Linked DNA regions of Homo sapiens: region 2 is linked to region 1. The links are contacts of gene promoters, found by promoter capture Hi-C in human tissues and cell types (Jung and others, 2019). All regions are on one chromosome and are shown on one strand. Each heading gives the region's core, a stretch centred on a gene start or on the middle of the fragment in contact. The rest is flanking DNA. Distances are from core to core; before and after follow the strand shown.

The links. The method cuts DNA at HindIII sites, captures the fragments that hold promoters and counts their contacts. A contact is called where the count stands out against the background at its distance.
Region 2: a fragment that was not itself captured here is called in contact with the fragment with the promoter of SHD in region 1 in 1 of the 25 tissues and cell types used here (lymphoblastoid cells).

The regions. Positions count from the first base shown.
Region 1 is chr19:4,277,711-4,284,400 of GRCh38, reverse strand. SHD (Src homology 2 domain containing transforming protein D) reads right to left here and starts at 5,135. Exons shown (of 6, transcript NM_020209.4): 1 at 4,041-5,135; 2 at 1,426-1,531; 3 at 1,159-1,347. The coding sequence starts at 4,337. The HindIII fragment of the contact is 14,506 bases long and covers 1-6,690 here.
Region 2 is chr19:4,651,273-4,658,639 of GRCh38, reverse strand. TNFAIP8L1 (TNF alpha induced protein 8 like 1) reads right to left here. Exons shown (of 2, transcript NM_152362.3): 2 at 3,072-6,773. The coding sequence starts at 6,770. The coding sequence ends at 6,210. It overlaps MYDGF (myeloid derived growth factor), which reads left to right. Exons shown (of 6, transcript NM_019107.4): 6 at 556-1,095. The coding sequence ends at 635. Among named protein-coding and RNA genes, the nearest start is that of MYDGF, 15 kb to the left of the region's middle. RefSeq lists a silencer at 3,859-3,908. The HindIII fragment of the contact is 5,354 bases long and covers 1,241-6,594 here.

The sequences.
Region 1 (6,690 bases), core at 3,886-6,385:
ATACCCTCCCAGTCATAAAACTTTGGGGGCAAAGTCGTGTTTGCACAACTCTTCCTGGTCCAAATTTTATTTATTTTATTTTATGTATTTGTTTATTTAGAGACAAAGTTTTGCTCTCGCTGCTCAGGCTGGAGTGCAATGGCACGATCTTGGCTCACCGCAACCTCCGCCTCCAGGTTCAAGCAATTCTCCTACCTCAGCCTCCTGAGTAGCTGGGATTACCGGCATGCACCACCACGCCCGACTAATTTTGCATTTTTAGTAAGACGGGGTTTCTCCATGTTGGTCAGGCTGGTCTCGAACTCCTGACCTCAAACGATCCACCCGCCTCGGCCTCTCAAAGTGCTGGGATTACAGGCGTGAGCCACCGTGCCCGGCAATTATTTTATTTTTTAAAACTGATTTTATCATTATCTCTTTTACAGAAGAGAAAACTAAGGTTCAGAGGCTTCTCCAAGCTCATCCAATTCAGCTGGAAATTCACCTGTAGTTTACTAGCAGCTATTAAGAAATGCTGCCCCGGGCGGGGGCGCGGTGGCTCCTGCCTGTAATCCCAGCACTTTGGGAGGCCGAGGCGGGTGGATCACGAGGTCAGAAGATCGAGACCATCCTGGCTGACATGGTGAAACCCCGTCTCTACTAAAAATACAAAAAATTAGCCGGGCGTGGTGGCGGGCGCCTGTAGTCCCAGCTACTCGGGAGGCTGAGGCAGGAGAATGGCGTGAACCCAGGAGGCGAAGCTTGCAGTGAGCCGAGATCACGCCACTGCACTCCAGCCTGGGCGACAGAGTGAGACTCCGCCTGGAAGAAAAACGAAAGAAAAATAAAATAAAATAAAATAAAATAAAGAAATGCTGCCCCTGCCACCCCCACATCCTATTCTAAAAGCAAGCCATATTCCTCTCCCCACACCACACTGAGCAGGATAAGTAGGTTCCATTCCACTCTAAAAAGTGTTTGCGTTTCCAAGGAAGATGCAGGTTGTCTTGGAAGAAAGAATTTAGGACTATCAGTCATTCACACTCTAGTGAGAATTAACAAACTACAAAAGTGACAAGTAATTGGACTCTACTTTGTAAACTGAAACAGGAGACATGACCAGATGAGGAAATGCAGGGATGGGGCATTCAGATGTCAGAGTGTGGGTCTGAGAAGCACCTGCAAACGCCCTGGAGATGTGGTCTTTCTTCCACTCCCAGGGCTGATCATACTCATCTGCTGGCCGTTCATCTTCCTGGGGCATCCGGCTCTGCCGAGGCTTCTGCCCAGAAGGGGGTCCATCTGCTGTCTCTGGGTCCTGTTCCTCATAAGGGGTGTCATAGAGCTGCACCCCTCTGCCGGGAAGTTCTAGGAGGCCAGGGACACTGTTCAGCTCCTGCTCCCATCTGGGACCCTGTCACCTTCCCCCAAGCCGTGCCTACTCACCACTCATGACCCATTGGGCATCGTAGGGCTCCATGTACCCATCATCCGGGGGTGCAGGATGAGGCTGAGCATCAAAGGGGTCTAAATACTCAGTGTCGGCTTCCAGCTGCGGAGAGAAGGAAGGGGAGAAGACAAGGACTCAGAGGGGCTTCCCTGCTAATTGACGCTGCACCTCTTGCCTGCCCACAGGGCCATCTGACACCTCTCCAAGAGTTTTTATTTTTTTATTATTTATTTATTTATTTTTATTTTTATTTTTTGAGATGGAGTCTCGCTCTGTCACCCAGGCTGGAGTGCAGTGGCGGGATCTGGGCTCACTGCAAGCTCTGCCTCCTGGGTTCACGTCATTCTCCTGCCTCAGCCTCCCGAGTAGCTGGGACTACAGGCGCCCGCCACCATGCCTGGCTAACTTTTTGTAGAGATGGGGTTTCACCGTGTTAGCCGGGATGGTCTCGATCTCCTGACCTCGTGATCTGCCCGCCTCGGGCTCCCAACGTGCTGGGATTACAGGCGTGAGCAACCGCGCCCAGCTGAGTTTTATTTATTTATTTATTTTGAGATGGAGTCTTGCTCCGTTGCCCAGGCTACAGTGCAGTGGTGTGATCTCGGCTCACTGCAACCTCCGACTCCCGGGATCAAGCAATTCTCCTGCCTCAGTCTCTGGAGTAGCTGGAATTACTGGTGCCGGCCACCAAACCTGGCTAATTTTTGCATTTTTAGTAGAGACAGGGTTTCACCATGTTGGCCAGGCTGGTCTTCAACTCCTGACCTCAGATGATCCGCCCGCTTCAGCCTCTCAAAGTGCTGGGATTACAGGCATGAGCCACAGTGCCTGGCCTCTCCAAGAGTTCTTTTTGGGGGTTGGAGAGGGAGTCTGTTACCCAAAAGTGCTCGCAGACAGCGGCTGGCTTCCCACGTCTCCCTCTGTCTTGATCCCATTTCCCCAGCACAGACACCTGCCTCCCTCCTTCGCCCACTTCAGTGCTTCTCCGTGCACTATTGTCAAGGATTTACCTGTGTTGATTTGTAATACCAACATGTAATAAGTACACCATTCCCCTTTTCCAGACAAGGAAGCCAAGGCACAGAGACAGTAAGTGTTTTGCTTAGGGACACACAGCTGGTAAGTAAGAGGCCGAGTCTGATCCCGGCTGACTGGTTTCCTCGAGTCCCTGGCTCTTCTTACCAACGTCTTACTTCTTATTTATTTATTTATTGAGACAGAGTCTCGCTCTTGTCACCCAGGCTGGAGTGCAGTGGCGCGATGTTGGCTCACTGCAACCTCCACCTCCTGGGTTCAAGCAATTCTCCTGCCTCAGCCTCAGGAGTAGCTGGGATTATAGGCGCACGCCACATCGCCTGGTTAATTTTTGCATTTTTGGTAGAGATGGGGTTTCACTGTGTTGGCCAGGCTGGTCTGGAACTCCTGACCTCAGGTGATCCACCTGCCTTGGCCTCCCAAAGTGCTGGGATTACAGGTGTGAACCACCACACCCAGCCTTTTTTTTTTTTTTTTTTTTTTTTTTTGAGACAGGGTGTTGCTCTGTCACCCAGGTTGGAGTGCAGTGGCGCAATCATGACTCACTGCAGCTTTGACCTTCTAGGCTCAAGTGATCCTCCTGCCTCAGCCTCCTGAGTAGCTGGGACTATGGTGTGCACCACCACAACTAGCTAATGTTTTGATTTTTTTTTTGTAGAGACAAGGTCTCACTCTGTTAGCCCGGGCTGGTCTCGAACTCCTGGGCTCAAGCAATCCTCCCACCTCGACCTCCCAAAGTGCTGGAATTACAGGCATGAGCTACTGCACCCGGTGGCCTGGGTTCAAATCCTAGTAAGCTAGAACCCCGTGAGACCTTAGCCAAGTCACTACCGTTCTGCGAGCCTCAGTTTCGCTTCTGTAAAACGGGAACATAGTGGTAGGAAGGGCAGCATCACCGGGAGGATATTTAGGTGCCCAGCAGGGGAGCAACTCACTCAGATCTATTTTAGGAAGATCCCACCAGGTTCCAAGAGGAAGGGGTGCTGAGGGGAGGGGGCTGGGGGACTGCAGGGGATGACCATGGAGGAGGAGGAGGACCCGGAGACCAAGCAGGGTGGTCAGAGAGGCAGAAGGACAACCAGCATTATGCATTGAAAAGGGACAGATATCCACCGGGCGCAGTGACTCACACCTGTAATCCCAGCACTTCGGGAGGCAGAGGCGGGAGGATCACCTGAGGTCAGGAGTTTGAGTCCAGCCTGGCTAACATGGTGAAACCAGTCTCTACTGAAAATACAAAAATTAGCCGGGTGTGGTGGCACACACCTGTAATCTCAGCTACTGGAGAGGCTGAGGCAGGAGAATCGCTTGAACCCCAGGAGGTGGAGGTTGCAATGAGCCGAGATCCCACCACTGCACTCCAGCCTGGGTGACAGGGGGAGACTGTCTCAAAATAAATAAATACATAAAAAGAACAGACTTCCCCAAGCAGGTGGAGGTCTGGAGGACTGGGAAGGGTCTGTCTGGTGCCCCAGTCCCCTCCTGTGATCACACATAAAATAAGCTCTCCACGATCCAGAGAGCCCATCCTGAGCCTCCCCTCCACCCAGTCTCCCCAGGCCACCCAGCCACGCACCTCCTCCCCGGGGCCGCCCAGAAGGGCCTTGGCTCTGGCCATATCCGCAGCCTCCACCTTGATGAGCCGGTGCTTGGGAGAACCATACTTGGCATCTCCGGGGTTCTTGGAGTCCCCAGGGCCCGCGGGGTCCGGCTCCAAGCGGCTCTCCGCGTCCTCATAGGGGTCCTCGAAGTCCAGGTTCTTCTGCGCGCGGTAGGCCCTCAGGATGTCGCTCTCGGTGTAGTCCGGGGTGGGCGGCTGCGGAGGGGGCCTCCGACCCCCAAAGCTCAGGTAGTCCCGTAGCCACTTGGCCATTTGGGCGCCTGTCACCCCAATCGGGCCACTGTCAGAGGGGCCCCCACATGCCCTTCTCCGGGCCCCTTTCCCCAAGGAGGAGGAGGAGGTGGAGAGGAAGGGAAGAGCAGGGAAGGATGAGAAAGATCAGGTGCGCCCTTTGGCGGGGCTCTGGATGGATAGAGGGAAGGAAAAGGTGAACGAGGGGGAGGAAAAGGAGGCGACAGAGGAGGGAGGAAGAGAAGCCCGCCTTAGCCCAGCTTGGGAAGCACCGCGGGGGAAGGGGGGACCTCGCAGGGCCCCGAACCCCGCGCGCTGGGGGCTAGGGCGAGGGGCATCCGCGGAGGCGCGCGGAGTTTCCGCGGGCAGCGCGGTTCCCTGGAGCGACACGGCCGCCCGCCGCCTCCAGGAAGCTCCGGGATCCCTTCCTGGGGTCGGGAGATCCGGGCCAGCGCCACCTGCGGACGCTCCCGGCCCCTCTCCCAGCCCGGACGCCTGGGTTCTCAGCGCAGCGGGCGGGCTCCCCAGGGGCGCGGGCGCCGCGCGCAAAGTTGGGCCGCGGAGACTGTGACCCCGGCGGGACGCATCCTTTGTCGCGCTCCTCTCGGCTCAGCGGGGAGCCCCCAGTCCCGCGGCCCCCGCCGCCTCGATCCGGCCCCAGCCACCCGCACAAAGGGAAATAAAAACCTCCTCCAATCCCCCTTCACGCTTTCGGAGAGACTTTCCCCGCCGCCGCCGGGAGGTGGGACGCTGGGGAGGGGGGCGCGCAGGAGGACGCCCCTGTTCCCACCAGCCCCGGGCCGCGTCCCGGGCAGCAGCGTCAAGGCTCCCCCACCTCCCCTCCGCCGCGTCCCCCGCCCCTCCCCTCCCCCTGCGCTCCCCTCGGAGGTGACTGAGACCTTCAGCTGTTCTGGGGAGGGAGGGAGCCGCTGCCCGCGGAGGGAAGGGGGGCTGGGGGCGGGAGTCGCCGGGGCCGAGGCCGCGGCAGCTGGACACTGACCGGGACGCCCGAGACTGGCCGCAGCGAGCGCGGAGCGCGGGAGGTGGGGAGCAGCTGGGAGTGACACTGCTGGGGAGGGGAGGGGAGAGGGAGAAGGAGGGGAGGGGGAAATTGCCCGGGAAATGGGGGACTGCACTTGACCGCCAAAAGGGGTGAAATTGACCAGCAGAGGGGGTGGGAATGACCGCCAGTGAGGGTCGAAATGGAACCGATGTCTGGCGGTGAAACGGACCGGGAGAGTGGGGATGTGCAAATTGGTGGAGAGGTCACTGGCTGAAATTGATATTGGAGCAGCAGAAGGAAGAGGGGGGCAAAGGAAGGGTGGGTGCGGATCGGGCTTCCCCTCCCCCAAGAGGGCTCTGCTCTGTGCCCCGCTCCCGCCCCAGAGGACTAATTGCGGGCAGGGGGAGGGTTGGGGGCAGCTGGCTTGGGGAAGGGAGATGGTATCTGTGCCTGGCGCCTGTCCTCTGCATCTGTCCTTTTGTGGCTTCTGGGGGCGGGGTGGGGGGGAGCGGTGGCGGGAAGAGGGGCAGAAGTGAGAGGGGTCTGGCCTGAACTGGCTGCCTGTTGTCAGCTGTCGTTGTCTGAGGGTGAGGGCACTGAGAGGTTTGGGGGGTGGGAGAGGAAAAGGGAGCCACTGGCCAATTTTCCAGTGCAGAACCGTTTTTTTTCTTTCCCCATAAGGGGGCTTGCCCAGTTCCTCCTAATGAGGGGAGTGAGAGAGGGGTGGTCAGGAAGGATGGGACCCCAGATTCTCTCCTCTTGTGGCCAGCCCCCTGGTCAGGCACAGGTCATAGCTTGGAGAGCACAGTTGGAGGACAAGACAGAAGTCAGAACCAACACTGCTATGACTGGGGCCTCCTGGCAGCCCGGCGGGGCTGAGGGCAGGGTCTGTCACTCCCTGAGTCTTGGTTTTCCTTATTTGAAAGATGTGGTTTCTAACAGGAAATCCCAGACAGCTCTAGGAAGGATTCCAGGAGGGACCGAGCTATCACCTGGCTTCCTCATTTTATGGATGGGGAAACCGAGGCACAGAGATGGGAGGGACTTGTTCAGAGCCACTCCACAGCTGATTCTGCCTGCACATCGCCGTGGGGCCTGGCCTAGGGTGGCACTGGAGTCTCTCTTTTTATTTTTTTGAGACGGAGCCTTGCTCTGTCCTCCAGGCTGGAGTGCCGTGTTGCGATCTCAGCTCACTGAAACCTCCACCTCCCAGGTCCAACCAATTCTCCTGCCTCAGCCTCCTGAGTAGCTGGGATTACTGCCACCACGCCCAGCTAATTTTTATATAATTTTATATTTTTAGTAGAGATGGGGTTTCACCACATTGGCCAGGCTGGTCTGGAACTCCTGACCTCAGGTGATCTGCCGGCC
Region 2 (7,367 bases), core at 2,668-5,167, 380 kb before region 1:
TGGCGCCAATGCTAAGCAGAAAGAGGAATCGGAGGCGCCGAGCTGGGGCAAGGGTGGGAGCCAAGGGAGTGGACACAGCAGGTAGGGCCGGGAGACTTGGGTGAAGCAGTGGAAGCCAGAGTTCTGACCCTGCTGGAGAAGTGTCATGAGGGCCTCAGACAGGTTCACCCACTGAGCAGGAGGTCTTGCAGCCTGACCCACCCTGCATCCTGTTCAGGCCGGGATCATCTCCTTCCTGGGCTTCTTCTGGCCCCTTTCTGCATCTCTTCTTGACAACATGGCACAAATGACCAGGGTTCTTCCCACCTCAGGTCTTTCTGTGGCTTCCTGCTGCCTGCCATCTATGTTAGCCCCACCGACCTTACCCTCCACATCACTGTTTTCCTGTCTGTCACCCGTAAGACTTTCAGTGCCTGGGGCCTTTTCACATGGGAGTCTGCTTTGGAGACTGCTCCCCTTGCCTGCTTAGCCCCCACCATGGGCCCCACCCCAAATCCTCCGGACTTCTGAGAATTTTCAATGTTGAGGGCCCAACCATGTGTTTCTTTCTTGCAGTGGCTCACAGGCCCGGGGCATTCAAAGCTGAGCTGTCCAAGCTGGTGATTGTGGCCAAGGCATCGCGCACTGAGCTGTGACCAGCAGCCCTGTTGCGGGTGGCACCTTCTCATCTCCGGTGAAGCTGAAGGGGCCTGTGTCCCTGAAAGGGCCAGCACATCACTGGTTTTCTAGGAGGGACTCTTAAGTTTTCTACCTGGGCTGACGTTGCCTTGTCCGGAGGGGCTTGCAGGGTGGCTGAAGCCCTGGGGCAGAGAACAGAGGGTCCAGGGCCCTCCTGGCTCCCAACAGCTTCTCAGTTCCCACTTCCTGCTGAGCTCTTCTGGACTCAGGATCGCAGATCCGGGGCACAAAGAGGGTGGGGAACATGGGGGCTATGCTGGGGAAAGCAGCCATGCTCCCCCCGACCTCCAGCCGAGCATCCTTCATGAGCCTGCAGAACTGCTTTCCTATGTTTACCCAGGGGACCTCCTTTCAGATGAACTGGGAAGAGATGAAATGTTTTTTCATATTTAAATAAATAAGAACATTAAAAAGCAACCCCACAGCCTGGGCCCTCCCGGCTGGCCGTTGCGGGTCAGGAGCTCAGACGCGGCTGACACTGCCCCACCGTGGGCGGGTGGGCGGTGTCTCTGGGTGGGACTTCTCTGCAGGCATCAAAGCGCTAGATCCCAAGGTGGCTGTATGTGAACTTGCCCCCTTCCCCCCTTGGCACTCGCTGTCCCTGGGTCCCCCACATGTTGTGAATTCACACCCGGGTTTCTGTGGCTGCCACAGGCCCCAGCGCGGGAGGATGTTCCAAGGCCGACCTGCTCTCTGCAGCCTGGGGCATTGGTTTCCCTTAGTTTGTTTTTCTTTTGAGACAGGGTCTTCTCCTGTCACCCAGGCTGAAGTGTAGTGGTGTAACACGGCTCACTGCAACCTCCACCTCCTGGGCTCAAGCGATCTTGCCACCTCAGCCTTCCAAGTAGCTGGGACTACAGGCACACGCCACCATGCCCGGCTAATTTTTGCATCTTCTTTTGATAGAGACAGCGTTTTGCCATGTTGCTCAGGCTGGTTTCGAACTGAGCTCAAGCAATCCACCTGTCTCGGCCTCCCAAAGTGCTGGGATTACAGGCATGAGCCACTGTGGCCAGCCTCCCGTAGTTTTTTGAAGCTGGGTTGCAACAGTGACTAAAAAACAAAAACAGACCAGACAGGATGGTTTACGCCCGTGAATCCCCGCACTTCGGGAGGCCAAGGTGGGAGAATCTCTTGACACCAGGAGTTCAAGACCAGCTTAGGCAACATAGCAAGACCCCCATCTCTACCAAAAAATAAATAATTTTAAAATTAGCCAGGTGTGGTGGGGCACACCTGTAATCCCAGCCACTCAGGAGCCTGAGGCAGGAGAATCGCCTGAACCCAGGAGTCCAAGGCAGCAGTGAGCCAAGATCGCGCCACTGCAGTCCAGCCTGGGCCACAGAGTGACACCTTGTCTCAAAAGAAAAAGAACCAGCCAGCCTTGACTTCCCAGCACACACTTGATGCCACCACATGAGGAAAGGACTGACGGCCGCACACATCAGCGGGAAGGGCCCCTAGACCAAGAATGGCAGTGCTCTGAGGTCTGAAGACCCCCCCGCCAAGGCCAGGAGGCTTTCCAGCTCTTGACTCTGAGGCTCCACGGGGCCCAGAAGATGAGCACGACAGGGTTGCCAGGGCCTCCTGTGCAGAAAAGGCCGTGGGAAACAGTGCCTACCACCAGTACCCTGGCCAAGGTAGGGGGACTCTCTCCTGGTCAGCTGGGATTCGCCCACAGCTTCTGGATCCCTGGCTGTCATCAAGGATGATGCCCGGGTGGCCTGATGCACCAGCATACATCAGGGCATCTCGGGACACACAGGAGCTTCCCCTCTGACCTTACGTGTGCATATGTGTGCTTTTTTTTTTTTTTTTTGGACAGGATCTTGCTCCATCACCCAGGCTGGAGTGCAGTGGTGCGATCTCGGCTCACCGCAGCCTCAACCTCCTGGGTCCAAGCCATCCTTCCAGATAGCTGGGACCACATGTGCATGCCACCCTGACTGGCTATAATTTTTTATTTTTTTATTCTGTTTCTGAGACCAAGTCTCACTCTGTTGCCCAGGCTGGAATGCAGTGGCACGATCTCATCTCACTGCAACCTCCGCCTCCCAGGTTCAAGTGATTCTCCTGCCTCAGCCTCCCAAGTAGCTGGGATTACAGGCACCCGCCGCCATGCCCAGCTAATTTTTGTACTTTTTAGTACAGATGGGGTCTCACCATCTTGGCCAGGCTGGTCTTGAACTCCTGACCTCAGGTGATCTGCCTGCCTCAGCCTCCCAAAGTGCTGGGATGACAGGCGTGAGCCACTGCACTTGGCCTTATATATATATATTTTTAGAGATAGGGTCTCGCTATGTTGCCCAGGGTGGTCTTGAACTCCTTGGCTCAAGTGATCCTCCTGCCTCGGCCTCCCAAAGCACTAGGTTTAACTGACATGAGCCACTGCGCCCAGGCTGGTGTGTGCTTTTATTTAAATTGTTCCGCAGTCCTATTTGGTTTGTTTCCTTTAATTAAATCTCAAATTTACAAGAGTCCAGACTGTCTGGACAGCCCAACAGGGACACAGAGAGTTTTACACACTGATGTCTCAACAGCACAGGGTTCCATCGGGACTTCGTGAGAAAATCAGGATCCATGTACGTTCTTGAAGAGCTGTCTCTCGGCCTAAGATAAGTGGAGAAGGTTGCCTTGGAAGCGTGGGGTAGAGGTAGGAACAGCTGGCTCTCTGGCCAAGGCCTTTGGCTTTTTCGCGGAAGCAAAAACCGAACCACGGGAAGGCTGCTCCGAGTCTGGGGTCAGAATTTCCTATCAGTGAGTGCAGCAGGCCAGGGAGAGGCGAAAGGGAGTGGAGAGGACTGTGGTGAAAGGGAGAGGGGCGGCCCCTGCACAGCTTCACCAGGCGTCAGTGCAGGCTCAGACGGCCGGACTGGCGAGTTTTCAAGAGAAACTCCAAATCCAGACAGGTGTGTGTGATCTCTTGGTTTTAAATGCAGACAAATTCCAAATGTCTCAAATACTGAATGGAGCCAGCTAGACCTACCTTCTCACCAAGTAAGGCCCACAGGCCCCTGCCGCAACCTCTACCCTCCACAGACAAGGTTCTGCAAAACAGTCATGGGACCTTGTTTCACCTCCCCCACAGGCACCCAAAATAACCTTCCTGACCTGCAGCAGCATTTTGCAATCTTTGAGAACCCCTGCCCCCTGCTGACAAACAAAAATGGCAAATAGACTCCCCCACACCACGCCTCCACGCCCTGAGCTGAGAATCGCCCGCATCTCGTGGGTGGTACCAGAGCCAAGACGACAGCCAAGCTTTGCTTTCTCAGCTCTGTCTTATAAAAGCAACATGGTTGGCTGGTTGGTTGCTGATTCTCCAAATATGAAATCACGATATTACAATGTGCACACTTTGTGAGGCCGAGGTAGGTAGGTCGCTTGAGCCCAGGAGTTCGAGACCATCCTGGGCAACATGGTGAGACCTTCTGTCTACAAAAAATACAAAGATTAGCCGGGTGTGCTCGTGCACACCTGTAGTCCCAGCTACCCGGGGCTGAGGTGGGAGGATCACTTGAGCCTGGAAGGAAGGGGCTGCAATGAGCCGAGATTTCACCACTGCACTCCAGCCTGGGTGACACAGCGAGACTTTGTCTCAAAACAATAAATAAATAAAATGTGCACACATCTCAGGTGGGTCCCCCCTCACCCCTGGGAGGTGGGCACGCTCCGTCCCCTCCCATGTGGCAGTCCCTGGATTGGAGCAGTTTCCCCTCCCGACCCAGGGCAGAGGTCTCCAGCTTCACGGAGGCATCCTGGCTGAACGTGCCAGCATTCACTGGAGCCTTCTTGAGTGGGGGCTTCCAGTACCACATCCTGTGGACTGAGGGGCTTCACGCACATTTATTCTCATTCAGTTCTCTGGGCCGCAAGTCTGAGATGAAGGTGTGGCCAGGGCTAGGTCCCTCCAAGGCTGAAGGGGATCTGCCCTGGGCCTCTCCCAGCTCCTGGTGGTGGCCGGCATCATTGGCCTTCCTTGCATGCATGTCTGTGTCCAAATACTTTTTTTTTTCTTTCTAAGACAGAGTCCCACTCTCACCCAAGCTGGAGTGCAGTGGCATGATCATCGGTCACTGCAGCCTCTTAACTCCTGGGCTCAAGTGATCTTCCCTCGTCATCTCTCAAGTAGCTGGGATTATACGTGTGCACCACCACAGTCACTTTTTTTTTTTTTTTTTTTTTTTTTTTTGAGACGAGTCTCGCTCTGTCACCAGGCTGAAGTGCAGTGGTGCAATCTCGGCTCACTGCAACCTCCGCCTCCCTGCAACCTGCGCCTCCCAGGTTCAAGCGATTCTCCTGCCTCAGCCTCCCAAGTAGCTGGGACTACAGGCACGCAACACCATGCCCGGCTAATTTTTGTATTTTTAGTAGAGACGGGGTTTCACCATGTTGGCCAGGATGGTCTCGATCTCTTGACCTTGTGATCTGCCCGCCTCAGCCTCCCAAAGTGCTGGGATTACAGGTGTGAGCCACCACGCCCGGCCCACCACGATAATTTTTTTTTTGTAGAGACGAGGGTCTCACCATGTTGCCCAGACTGGTCTTGAACTTCTGAGTTCAAGCAATCTTCCTGCCTCGGCCTCCCAAAGTGCTGGAATTAGAGTAGTGAGCCACTGCACGTGGCCTCAATCCCCCACTCCCCCGCTTCTTTTTTTGAGACAGAGTCTTGCTCTGTCACCCAGGCTGGAGTGCAGTGGCACAATCTCGGCTCACTGCAACCTCCTCCTCCTGGTTCAAGTGATTATCCTGCCTCAGCCTCCCGAGTAGCTGGGACTACAGGCATGTGCCACCATGCCCAGCTAATTTTTTGTATTTTCAGTAGAGATGGGGTTTCACCGTGTTAGCCAGGATGGTCTCGATCTCCTGACCTCGTGATCCGCCCGCCTCAGCCTCTCAAAGTGCTGGGATTACAGGCGTGAGCCACCGCGCCCTGCCCCAGGCCCCCTTTTTTTAAGGACCCCAGTCCTTGAATTGGGGCCCACCCTACTCCAAGATGAGATCATCTGAACTAATTCCATCTGTAATGATCCTATTTCCAAATCAGATCATCTTCTGAGGTCCTGGGGGTTAGGACGTGAGTTTATGGAAGGGGGGGTGCCGCGACTTGCCCCCTAACACTTCCCTTCCCCCAGTTCACCGTGTGAACCCGTAGTCCTTGTGCGAGGGATGAAAATCCCAGGCGACATGATCCAAGTGGGAGGCAGCAGCTTTTGGCTTTTACATCAAGCGACCCAGGGGTCGGCGTGGCCCAGAAAGTACAAACGGGTGAAAGGTGGTCCCCAGAGTAGGGCCCCAAATTCCTCTCCCCATTGGGCGGGGGCCAGGAGGAGAGGTGACATTGGTGTTTGAAACAGCTGCTACAGATGCCTCAGCATCCTCTCAAAGGAGACAGGTCACCCATCTGTCTAGGGGAGTTTGGCCGGAGTCCGATTGGGAGAAAAGAGGTGGAAAAAAACCCACAAACCCCACCCGCGCCCAGCAGGAGAGCCCCAAAAGGCGCGAGGGGCGCGGTTGGGCGGCGCCGGGGTTCAGAGGCTGCCCTCGTCCAGCATCCGGCCCAGGCCCTCGCAGATCCTGCGCAGGTGGGAGCGGTAGGGCTCGGCGGGGCCGTAGAGCGCAGCCAGGAAGTCGCAGTCGGCTAGGTGGCCGAACACGTGGTTGATGCGGCCGTGGGACTTGGCGGTCAGGTGGGGACCCACGGCCTGGTGCAGCAGGTCGCGGCACTCGAGCAGCCCGGCGGCCAGCACGCGCCGGTCGAAGGTGAAGTCCACCTGGTGGAAGCTGACGGCCGTCATGGCCAGGCAGCGCGCCCGGTGGCGGAAGCGCCGCAGCAGCGCCAGCTCCTCACCGCCCAGCTGGTCCCCACGCAGCAGCAGTCCCAGCTTCAGGGCCACCTTGACCAGGTTCTTGAGCATCTTCTGGGCCTCCTTGCGGCTGCGCGTGAACTCCCTGGTGGCGCGGTACAGCTCATCCAGCACCTCACTGCTGGTGTCATCCACCAGCACGGCCACCACTGCCTTGGACGCCATCTTACTCAGGAGCTTCTTCTGCGCCTGCAGAGCCAGGCTCTTGGTGCTGAAGGTGTCCATGGCCTGCGGGGGACACAGACCAGCCCTCAGTTTTGCACGTTGGGGCACTCCTCACACAGAAGAGGTGACAACACCACAGACCCCAGAGGGCCTAACGGAATTTGTTTCTTTAAAAAGTGTCATGCCGGACGCAGTGGCTCACGCCTGTAATCCCAGCAATTTGGGATGCCTAGGCAGGCGGATCGCCTGAGATCGAGGTTAGGAGTGCGAGACCAGCCTGGCAAACATGGTGAAACCCATGTTTCTCTCTACTAAAAATACAAAAATTAGCCAGGCTTGGTGATGGGTGCCCGCAATCCCCGCTACTTGGGAGGCTGAGGCAGGAGAATCCCTTGAGCCCGGGAGGCGGAGGTTGCAGTGAGCTAAGACCATGCCACCGCACTGCAGCCTATAATTCAAGCCTGTGGTTCATGCCTGTGGTCCCAGTGCTCTGGGAGGCTGAGGCAGGAGAATTGCGAGGCCAGGAGTTTGAGACCAGCCTGGGCAACATAACAAGACCCTATCTCTAAAAAAAAAAAATCAAAAATTTTATTTTGTATTTATTATTATGATTATTATTATAAACAAACAGAGAAGGCCCTTCTGAACCCCACTATC